Regions from separate parts of the Homo sapiens genome. Here regions 2 and 3 are each linked to region 1. The links are contacts of gene promoters, found by promoter capture Hi-C in human tissues and cell types (Jung and others, 2019). All regions are on one chromosome and are shown on one strand. The core of a region is centred on a gene start or on the middle of the fragment in contact, and the rest is flanking DNA. Distances in the headings are between cores, read along the strand shown. Region 1 holds the start of COMMD5 (COMM domain containing 5). Region 2 overlaps ARHGAP39 (Rho GTPase activating protein 39). Region 3 overlaps ARHGAP39 (Rho GTPase activating protein 39).

What was found. The method cuts DNA at HindIII sites, captures the fragments that hold promoters and counts their contacts. A contact is called where the count stands out against the background at its distance.
Region 2: a fragment that was not itself captured here is called in contact with the fragment with the promoter of COMMD5 in region 1 in 2 of the 25 tissues and cell types used here (dorsolateral prefrontal cortex and lymphoblastoid cells).
Region 3: a fragment that was not itself captured here is called in contact with the fragment with the promoter of COMMD5 in region 1 in 3 of the 25 tissues and cell types used here (dorsolateral prefrontal cortex, lymphoblastoid cells and spleen).

Annotation. Positions count from the first base shown.
Region 1 is chr8:144,851,384-144,854,999 of GRCh38, reverse strand. It overlaps COMMD5 (COMM domain containing 5), which reads left to right and starts at 1,952. Exons shown (of 2, transcript NM_014066.4): 1 at 1,952-2,161; 2 at 3,605-3,616. RefSeq lists enhancers at 1,332-1,431, 1,982-2,311, 1,889-2,737 and a silencer at 1,722-1,911. The HindIII fragment of the contact is 6,847 bases long and covers 1-3,616 here.
Region 2 is chr8:144,578,594-144,582,161 of GRCh38, reverse strand. ARHGAP39 (Rho GTPase activating protein 39) reads left to right here. Exons shown (of 12, transcript NM_025251.3): 3 at 885-1,316. Among named protein-coding and RNA genes, the nearest start is that of C8orf82, 51 kb to the right of the region's middle. The HindIII fragment of the contact is 7,795 bases long and covers 1-3,568 here.
Region 3 is chr8:144,560,644-144,564,309 of GRCh38, reverse strand. All of the region lies in intron 3 of ARHGAP39 (Rho GTPase activating protein 39), which reads left to right. Among named protein-coding and RNA genes, the nearest start is that of C8orf82, 33 kb to the right of the region's middle. The HindIII fragment of the contact is 5,044 bases long and covers 1-3,666 here.

The sequences.
Region 1 (3,616 bases), core at 703-3,202:
CCCTTTCACGTGGACCCTTTAGGGTTGTAAGCCCTTAAAAGGGCCAGTAATTTCTTTTTCGAGGAGCTCAGCTCTTAAGACACAAGTCTGCCAAAGCTCCCAGCCAAATAAAACCCCTTCCTTCTTTAACCCAGTGTCTGAGAAGTTTTGTCTGTGGCTCATCCTGCTACAATAAGATGAGAGTTCTCCAGGCACTCCAGGCACTCTGGCCTTTGGGTGGGAACTGTCTCCAAAACTCACCCCCAGGTTCCTGGCTCTCCTCACTTCAGGAGGGGGTGGGTCTGCCACGTAACCACCGCCCAGACCTCACAAGTGATAGCACTTCACCTTTTTGCTTCAGATATTTTAAAGAGAAATAACACCTTACAGATGCAGTCTCTTTCTAAACTTCCCAGATCCATTCCCTTTAAACAATCCTCCCTCAGCATGGTTTTTAGACTTGATTTGTTTTGTCTTAGAAATGGAGTCTTGCCATGTTCCCCAGGCTGGTCTCAAATTCCTGAACTGAAGTGGTCCTCACTCTGCCTCTCAAATAGCTGGGACTATAGGTTGCCCTCACCTCCTGCTGTGAGGTCAGTTCCTAACAGGCCACTGACCTGTAGCGGTCCACAGCCTGAGGGTTGGGGACCCCTGCTATAGGTGCACACCACCACACCTGTTTTTTTTTTTAATTTTGTAAAAATGAAGCCTTGATATGTCGCCCAGGCTGGTCTTGAACTCCTAGCCTCAAGTGGTCCTCCCACCTAGTCCTCATAAAGTACTGGGATTGTAGGCATGAGCCACTGCACCCAGTCTCCACTCCTATTTATTATTGAACACTATTCCATTGTATGGCTGATGTGGTTTGCATCTGTGTCCCCGCCCAAACCTCATGCTGAAAGGTAATACCCAATGCTGGAGGTGGAGACTGGTGGGAAGTGATTGGATCGTGGGGGTGGCTTTTCATGAATGGTTTAGTACCATGCCCTTAAGTTATGGTCTCATGATAGAGTTCTCCTGAGATCTGGTTGTCCACCTCCGCCTCCCAAAGTGCTGGGATTACAGGCGTGAGCCACCGCACCCAACCTGTCATTTTTATTATAACCCTTCTAATGGTATGAAATGGCACCTCCCCGTGGCTTCCATTCGCATTTCTCTAATAGCCAACAATGCCGAAGGCTTCATGTACCCATTACCCACTTTGTATCTTCCTTGATGTCTACTCACATCTTCTGCCCATTTAATTAGGTTGTTTCCCTTTTCAGAGTTTTTTTTTTTTTTTTAAGTTTTATTGGGCTATAATTCACATACCATATAATTCACCCATTTTGTACAATTCAATGATTTTGGCATATTATTTTTTAACTATGGTAAAGTACATGTTAAATAAAATGGCTCGGCCATTGTTTCGGACCGAGCTCCTGCGCTAGGGCCCAACAGAGCAGCCCAAAGCGGAACCGAGTCACGCGCGCCGGACGCCACCCGACAGGAGGGGAAACGGGGCAGCTCTCAAAACCCTGGAGGCGCAGACCGTCCACACGGGACAGGGACGCCCGCTCGGCTCCGCTCCGCGCTGATCCTCAAGGTCTCGCGGTTTCCCCGCCGCCCACCCGGACGCCGACGAAAGCCAGCGAGCTCCTCAGCCTCAGGTGACTGGAATTCTGACCCCAGACCACGGGACGCGTTCTCCCGCTTTACCCTCACTCTGCGCGGGCGGGGAGGGAGACGCGGGCGCAGGCCGCAGTTTCTACCTCAGAAACGGAAACACAACACCGCCTTCTTTTTCTTTGGGGAAAGAAAAAAAAAAAACTGTCTAAGACGAGGTCTGGGACCCCGCCGGCGACCCCCGATTCCCCCGGGCGGGGAGGGGGCGGGACCTGGCGCGGCCTCGGCTCCGCCCCTCGGGCCAGCGGACCACAGTGGGGCGGTCATTGCTGCCTTCCTAGAGCGGCCCGGAAGTGGCTCTCAGGGCGCTTCCGGGGACCAGGCCCGCTTTTGGCTGCATCAGCCGGGGATTGCCGGCGCCAGGTGCTGGGGGCGACTCGGACAGCGGGAGCGTGGGGTGGAGTAGGATGGAGTCTCCCTCCCGAGCTGGGGGTGTGGGCCTAGGAAAGGCTGCTTCGCCGCTGTGTTCGGAGAGCTCTGGATACTGCGGGGCTTTTCCGCGGAGGAGCGCCCGCCGGTAGGTTGGCCCCGAACCGTGGGGGCGGCGACGGCCGAGTGCCAATTTGACTCTGTGCACCAAGGTCCCCGCGCCCCGGAACGGGCGACGCCGCGCCCCCATCAGAGCCGCGGGTACGGAGTCAGGGTGCGAACCCGGCCTTCCAAGCCGCGCGACCGGAAGCGGGCAGCTCGGAGGCCTTCCCGGATGGCTCTTTGGAGTGGGAAGGAGCTCCTGGTGCTGGCGGGACGGTGAAGGAGTTGGCAGTGGGTGGTCGTTGACTCCCAGGGAGAATGGGGCGCCGTGAAGCCCGTGGGGAGCTCCTGGGCTCCCCCAGCGCTGTGCAGAGTGGCCTGACAAGTGCCTCGAGGACAGGAGCTGTGCCCCGCTGAGCTCTGCTCCAGTACCTGGTGTGCTGAGGTGGGCACGTGCGTTTCCTCTGGCATAGCAGGTGCTTGTGCTGCTGCACTGCTCCTTCAGGTGCGTCGGAACCCTCTTTAGTTGCCGCACTTGCCTCTGTTGCCAGCCGTTGCTCAGCTCTTCCAGCCCGGGGGTTGGGGCTGTGGTGGAAACAGCTGGGACTTCTGAATAGACAGGTCTAGGCTTCAGTCCTTGACTTTGGCAGCTGTGTTTAGAGCTTTGATTTCTTTTTACTTTTCTTTTCTTCTTCCCTGCCTCCCCTCCCTCCCCCCTCCCTCCATTCGTTCGTTCCTTCCTTCCTTCCTCACAGCATCTCTGTTGTCCAGGCTGGAGTGCAGCGGCTCGATTTCGTCTCACTGCAGCCACGACTTCCTGGGCTCAAGGGATCCTCTGTCCTCTCAGCCTTCTGAGTAGCTGGGACTACAGACGTGCACCACCACGCCTGGCTAGTTTTTTAAATTTTTTGTAGAAACGGGGTCTTGCTATGATGCCCAGGTTGGTCTCCAACTCCTGGGCTCAAGCGATCCGCTGGCCTCACCTTCACAAAGTGCTGAGATTTCAGGCTTGAGCCACTGCACCTGGCCTAGAGCCTTATCTCCCTCTCTGTCAGGTGAGAATGGTAATTCTTCTTGCCCACTGTTGTGAAGGATTCAAGATTGAATAGTTAAATGGTCTCAGTGTGGTCTGTGGCGCCAGCTGCAGTGTCCCTGTGTTCCCCGGACCGTTCCCCTAGTTCATTCTTTCATCTATTAATTTACTTGGAGAACTTGTGCTGTTTCCTGGTCCTCCTCCCTGCCCCCTACTTCTCTGCCAATTCCTGCTTGTCCTTCATGCCTTAGATGTCACTTCCTCTGGGAGGCCTCCGCTCCTCCTGGGACTGACATGGACCCCTCTGCCACCTGCTTCCAGGGCCATCTCCGCAGCACTGACTGTCATTGGTAGTTCACACTGTCAGCATGCTGATGATGGGGACCATATCAACCCTCACTCGCTGGCCCAAAGGATGTGAGAGTCACTGGTCTTCTCTCCTCCACCCCACTCTAGGCATCTGCATCT
Region 2 (3,568 bases), core at 567-3,066, 270 kb after region 1:
CTGCCCTCACCACTTGCCTCCCCTTCTGTTGAGCCCCTGGGATTAGTGCATTTTCCCTGGAAACGAGACCCCTCACCAGCCCGGTGATGGCGAGGACCAGGCCTGTCGCAGGGCTAACGAGACACCTCACCAGCCCGGTGATGGCGAGGACCAGGCCTGTCGCAGGGTTAAGAGACGGATGCATGGGTCCATGGGAACGCCTCCTGGCAGCATCTTTGCTGAGAGGCTCTTGGTGCCTCTAAGGGTTTTTGTTTCCGTGTAGAAACATGGAAGAGGCCTCAGAAACGTTACTGAGCTGGAGGCTGTGCCCCCAGCGGGGGTCTGAGGGCCGGGTGGAGACTCTGCCCCCCATCGGGGGTCTGAGAGCCAGCTGGGCCCTTGGCCTTGCTGATCTGGGGGATCCTTGGGAGAACACAGCTTGGGAGTCCAGCAGCACTTAGCTGGGCCTGAGGCCCCTCCAGACCCCGACCCAGTGTGGAGGTGGCGGTCCAGTTGCAGCGGAGGGGCTACTGAGCAGGTGTGCAGTGATGACTCGCAGGCCTGTGCCACGATCCTGCAGGACGGAGCAGTGGGCAGTGAGGTTGTGGCCTGGGTGCCTGTGAGGACAGGAGCCTGCAACCACAGCCAGTATGTCCCTACCCCACGTGGGGCCCAGGACCCCCCAAAGGGCTGCACCACCCTGAGGCGCTGGCGGCTCCGGGGGCTTCCCCGGTTGCGGGTGCTCAGGAGCACAGCAGTCAGGGGCGGACTGGGCTTGGGTTTGCTTTCCTCTATGACAGGATTTCTGGGTTTCGCAGCTGGGGCTGGAGCCGGGGTCTGCAGGGGTGGGAGGCGCGGGCCCAGGCCGCCGTGGCTCCAGCCGCCTTAACCCTGTCTCTCCCCAGGTTGGAGTGGGTGGAGATCATCGAACCGCGCACCCGCGAGCGCATGTACGCCAACCTGGTCACCGGTGAGTGCGTGTGGGACCCGCCGGCCGGCGTCCGCATCAAGCGCACCAGCGAGAACCAGTGGTGGGAGCTGTTCGACCCCAACACGTCCCGCTTCTACTACTACAATGCCAGCACGCAGCGCACGGTGTGGCACCGGCCGCAGGGCTGCGACATCATCCCGCTGGCCAAGCTGCAGACGCTGAAGCAGAACACGGAGTCCCCGCGCGCCTCGGCGGAGAGCAGCCCCGGGCGCGGCAGCAGCGTCAGCCGTGAGGGCAGCACCAGCTCCTCCCTGGAGCCCGAGCCCGACACTGAGAAAGCGCAGGAGTTGCCAGCGAGGGCCGGGCGGCCCGCGGCGTTTGGGACAGTGAAGGAGGACAGCGGCAGGTGAGGGCGGGGGCAGCTGCTATGGGCGGGGCCAGGTGAATGGAGTGGGCGGGGCCAGGTGAGGCAGGTAGGGGGTGGTGGGCGGGGCCAGGTGAGAGCGGGACTGGTGAAGGTGGTGGGCGGGGCCAGGTTAGGAGTAGGTCGGGTATGGTGGGCGGGGCCAGGTGAGTGGAATGGGCGGGGCCACGTGAGAGCGGGACTGGTGACGGTGGTGGGCGGGGCCAGGTGAGGAGTAGGTCAGGTATGGTGGGCAGGGCCAGGTGAGGGCGGTGGGCGGGGACCCAGGGGACTCAGTGTCCCCGCGAGTGGCCAGAGCCTCGTCCTTGGCTGTAGCAGCCACCGCTGCTGTCCCCAGTGAGCACTTTCTTGTCTCTCTGGGCAGCAGAGCCTGGCGCTCAGCCTCAGAGGGTTCTGGGTCCTCCAACCCTGCCCCTCACTGGCCCAGCCCCTGGCAGGTGGTGGTTCCTGAGAGCAGTGTCTGAGGGGCTCGCCCAGCTCTCTCTGCTGATGGGAGATGCAGATGTGGGGATTTGCGTGCGGGCGTGGGGTGTGTGGACCTAGGGGGACCCAGGTGGAGGGTGTAGATCAGTGTGGACACAGCTGAGGGGTCTGAGCAGGCTTGGAGGTGGTCCTCTGGAGTCACAGTGGCTCCGAAGGAGCACAGCCTGTGTTGGTGGGAGCCCAGGAGACCCCTGCCCTCAGAAACAGGGAGAGGTCAGGGTAGAGCGCAAGGGCCTCGAGGTGAGTGCACCGTGGGAAGCGAGTCCAGAGAGGACGGTGGGGAAGAGCCGAGGCAGGCGGGCAGGACAGTGGGGAAGGGCTGAGGCAGGCGGCAGGCCAGCAGGACAGTGGGGAAGAGCCGAGGCAGGGACAGGAGGCTGGGGCTTCCCAGAGCCCAGGCTGTGGCCCAGGGCAGACAGGCCTGGCCACTGCAGGGGCGGATGGAGGCCACTCTGGAGAGGATGGAGGAGAGGCTGGACCCCAGGGAGAGAAAGGCAGGGGATTGGTCTCCCCCAGTACCAGATTTTCGGTGCTTGGCTGAGGTTGCCAGGGGAGCTGAGGCCCAGGGGCTTTCTGCAGAGGTGGGAAGGAGCGTGTTGGACTGCCGGGCTCATCTGAGGCTTCAGAAGAGGGATTCAGAGTGAACCACAGAGCTCAGAGGACAGCAGGCTTCCGTCCCACCGTGCCGAGGTGCAGGCACAGAGGGAGGCGGGCAGCAGGTTCATCCCGTGGACCCGGTCTGGCAGGATGAAAGGGAGGCCAGGGATGGGGCCTGCTGCAGAGTGGGCAGGAGGTGGGGCAAATCAGGTGTGGAGGAGCCACTGGAGCACACCGGGAAGACGGTGTTGGTGTCGGTATTCAGGGCAGGGTGAGCAGCGGAGGCTCGGGCGTGGCGTGGGTGAGCGAGCGGTGCAGAAGGCGGGCACAAAGAGGACCAGGGCCTACATTTCACATCCCACCAGCAAATATGAGGGTTCAAAGTTATCCACGGCCTTGCCAACACTACTTGCTTTCCTTTTTAGATTTCTTTTAGCTATTGTAGCCACTGTGAAATGTCTCATTGTAGTTTTGGTTTGCATTTCCTTAATGACTAATGACTTTGAGCCTTTTTTCACTTTCTTTTTTTTTTTTTTTTTTTTTTTTGAGACAGAGTCTCGCTCTGTCGCCCAGGCTGGAGTGCAGTGGCACGATTGCTGCTCACTGCAAGTTCCGCCTCCCGGGTTCACACCACTCTCCTGCCTCAGCCTCCCGAGTAGCTGGGACTACAGGCACCTGCCACCACGCCCAGCTAATTTTTTGTGTTTTTAGTAGAAACAGGGTTTCACCATGTTAGCCAGGATGGTCTTGATCTCCTGACCTCGTGATCCACCCACCTCCCAAAGTGCTGGGATTACAGGCATGAGCCACCACGCCTGGCCCCTTTTTTCACTTTCTTGATGGTATCATTTGAAAAACAAAGGTTTTTGTTGTTTTTGTTTTGTTTGTTTGTTTGTTTGTTTTTGAGACAGGGTCTCTCTTTGTCTCTGGGGCTGGAGTGCAGTGGTGCAATCTCACTGCAGCCCTCACCTCCCGGGCCCAGTGACCTCCCACCTCAGACCCCCAAGTATCTGGGACTGCAGGCACGTGCCACCACACCAGGCTAATTTTTGTATTTTTTTTGTAGAGATTGGGGTTTCACTATGTTGCCCAGGCTGGTCTCCAACTCCTGAGCCCAGGCAGTATGCCCACCTATGCCTACCAAAGCACTGGGA
Region 3 (3,666 bases), core at 1,017-3,516, 290 kb after region 1:
GGACAACGGGGGCCAGTGCTGCTGCTCAGAGAAACCAAAAGGAGTTGGCATTCCTGACTATCAGAACCAATTGCAGATGTTCATCTCTTGTTATTTGTGATGACATTTTACATGCTTCATCTGCAAAAATGTCTTTTTACACAGAGAGCTACTGCCAAATACTGGTGTCAGTCCATGAGCATATGATTTGGAAGGCATTTATCAAATTCTGCTGGATCTATATTTTGAGCTCAGAAAATATATCTGCTGCAAATTTGTGTGGGAATGGAAATCTCACTTTCTGTTTTAATTTTAGACACCATGGGAAGTAGATAAAGCAGCTTGACATTACTTATGATTCAGACATTAGTTGACATCGAAATAACTTTACTGCAATATAAGTTTCACACATATGCACTGTTTGATTTGTAATGTTAGGTTGAATTCATTAAGAAATGTTGTCAAGCCTACAACAAAAATTAATTTCCAAAGTCATTAATTGTGCACTTATTTATTTATTTATTTTATTATTATTTTTTTTAGATACAAGGTCTCGCTGTTACCCATGCTAGAATGCAGTGGTGTGATCACAGCTCACTGCAGCCTTGAACTCCTGGGCTCCAGTGATTCTCCTCCAGAGCAGCTAGGACTATAGGCATATGCCACTGTGCCCAGCTAATTTTCTTTTATTATTATTATTTTTTTTTTATAGAGATAAGGTCTCACTATCTTTCCAGGCTGGTCTTGAACTCCTCGTCTCAAGTGATCCTCCTAACTCAGCCCCCTAAAGCATTGGGATTTTAGGGCTGAGCCCTAAAATTTTAGGGTGCCAAGCCCTTTTCAGTGTTTAATAGTGGTTGAGGGAGGTTTTTCTCATGCAGAGACTTTTAGTCTTGGCCCAGAGTTTTCTAAAAAATGACAATAAAACTTTGCCACTGCGAAGCTGTTGAATTTTGTGTGGTCGGAAAGTGAGAATATTTATCATTGATTTCTGACAAAAATTCATGGAACTAATGATGGCTGAGTCATGAGAGTGCATGAAGTTCGTGTTGATGCCACTGTTTCAGTAACTCCTAATAGATTCAAATACTTTTCACAAAGTAGCTGCTAATGAAAAACACAATAAACATAGGCTTATATTTTCACATTATCTTCAGTTTTCATAAGCTTTGTAAGTTTGTCTAAGTAAGCCTTTTCTGATCCACATATATTCTTAGCATGATCAGTTGTAGTTCATCTTAGTAGATTCCACTTCAGGTCATACAAAATTAGTATTTTCACAACTTATTTGAAAATACTGTGTGTTCTAGTTGTTCCACATAGAGCAAGTGATAGAGGCTAATTCTTTGGTCACTTCAAGCTCAATATTGACTCCTTCAAACATAGCAGTACCAGTAACGTCTGTCAGCTCATCAAGAGCCAAGGAAACCACTGGAGTCCGATGGAAACCACTGGAGTTAGTCTGTGGAAACCACTGGAGTGAGTCCGATGGAAACCACTGGAGTGTGATGGAAACCACTGGAGTCCGATGGAAACCACTGGAGTGAGTCCGATGGAAACCACTGGAGTCCAATGGAAACCACTGGGGTGCGATGGAAACCACTGGAGTGAGTCCGATGGAAACCACTGGAGTCCGATGGAAACCACTGGAGTGAGTCCGATGGAAACCACTGGAGTCCGATGGTAACCACTGGGGTCCGATGGAAACCACTGGAGTGAGTCCGATGGAAACCACTGGAGTGTAATGGAAACCACTGGAGTGTGATGGAAACCACTGGAGTGTGATGGAAACCACTGGAGTCCGATGGAAACCACTGGAGTGAGTCCGATGGAAACCACTGGAGTGCGATGGAAACCACTGGAGTGCGATGGAAACCACTGGAGTCCGATGGAAACCACTGGGGTCCGATGGAAACCACTGGAGCGCGATGGAAACCACTGGAGCGCGATGGAAACCACTGGGGTCCGATGGAAACCACTGGAGCGTGATGGAAACCACTGGAGCGTGATGGAAACCACTGGAGCCCGATGGAAACCACTGGAGCACGATGGAAACCACTGGAGCACGATGGAAACCACTGGAGTGTGATGGAAACCACTGGGGTGAGTCCAATGGAAACCACTGGAGCCCGATGGAAACCACTGGGATGTGATGGAAAGCACTGGGGTCTGATGGAAACCACTGGAGTAAGTCCGATGGAAACCACTGGAGTAAGTCCGATGGAAACCACTGGAGTAAGTCCGATGGAAACCACTGGAGTAAGTCCGATGGAAACCACTGGAGTAAGTCCGATGGAAACCACTGGAGTGTGATGGAAACCACTGGAGTGTGATGGAAACCACTGGGGTCCGATGGAAACCACTGGAGTCCGATGGAAACCACTGGAGTGTGATGGAAACCACTGGAGTGTGATGGAAACCACTGGAGTGCGATGGAAACCACTGGAGTGTGATGGAAACCACTGGGGTGAGTCCAATGGAAACCACTGGAGCCCGATGGAAACCACTGGGATGTGATGGAAAGCACTGGGGTCCGATGGAAACCACTGGAGTAAGTCCGATGGAAACCACTGGATTAAGTCCGATGGAAACCACTGGATTAAGTCCGATGGAAACCACTGGAGTGTGATGGAAACCACTGGAGCGCGATGGAAACCACTGGAGCGCGATGGAAACCACTGGAGCGCGATGGAAACCACTGGGGTCCGATGGAAACCACTGGAGCGCGATGGAAACCACTGGGGTCCGATGGAAACCACTGGGGTCCGATCGAAACCACTGGAGTGTGATGGAAACCACTGGGGTCTGATGGAAACCACTGGAGTCTGATGGAAACCACTGGAGTGTGATGGAAACCACTGGAGTGTGATGGAAACCACTGGAGTGTGATGGACACCACTGGAGTGTGATGGAAACCACTGGAGTGTGATGGACACCACTGGGGTGAGTCCGATGGAAACCACTGGGGCCCGATGGAAACCACTGGGATGTGATGGAAAGCACTGGGGTCTGATGGAAACCACTGGAATGTGATGGAAACCACTGGAGTGTGATGGAAACCACTGGGGTCTGATGGACACCACTGGAGTGTGATGGAAACCACTGGAGTGTGATGGAAACCACTGGGGTGAGTCCGATGGAAACTGCTGGGGTGCGATGGAAACCACTGGGGTGTGATGGAAACCGCTGGGGTGCAATGGAAACCACTGGGGTCCTAGGGCTGTTGTGTTGCTCTCACTGTCCTCAACTCCTCAAGCAGCTGCTCTTGCCAAAAGGCTAATAGTCTTAAGCAAGTTTATCATCTCTCGACACAGTTTTAGATGCCATAATCAACACAATGTAATTAATTTCCCATCAGTGAACAGTTTTCCTTGCTTGGCTAACAAGTGAGCCACATTAGAACATACGTTAGTGTAAGGGTCATTTTTATTTTTGTAAAGTAATTCTGCCGTGATGAAATACTCCACTTGAGAGTTTCTGTTTCTGTTTAAAATGTTTCTGACAGTTGTGTAAGTTGAGTCTGTTGTGACGAGTACTTGCTCTAGTAGTGTTGACGTCATGCTCCTTTAGCACAGCCATAGCATCACCGCCTCAGGAACATGATATTCATCTAACTCAGTAACAGAGTAACCCGCGCACCGCTGGTCCTCGAGAGCATAACATTGAAGGCCCACTTGCAGGACCCCA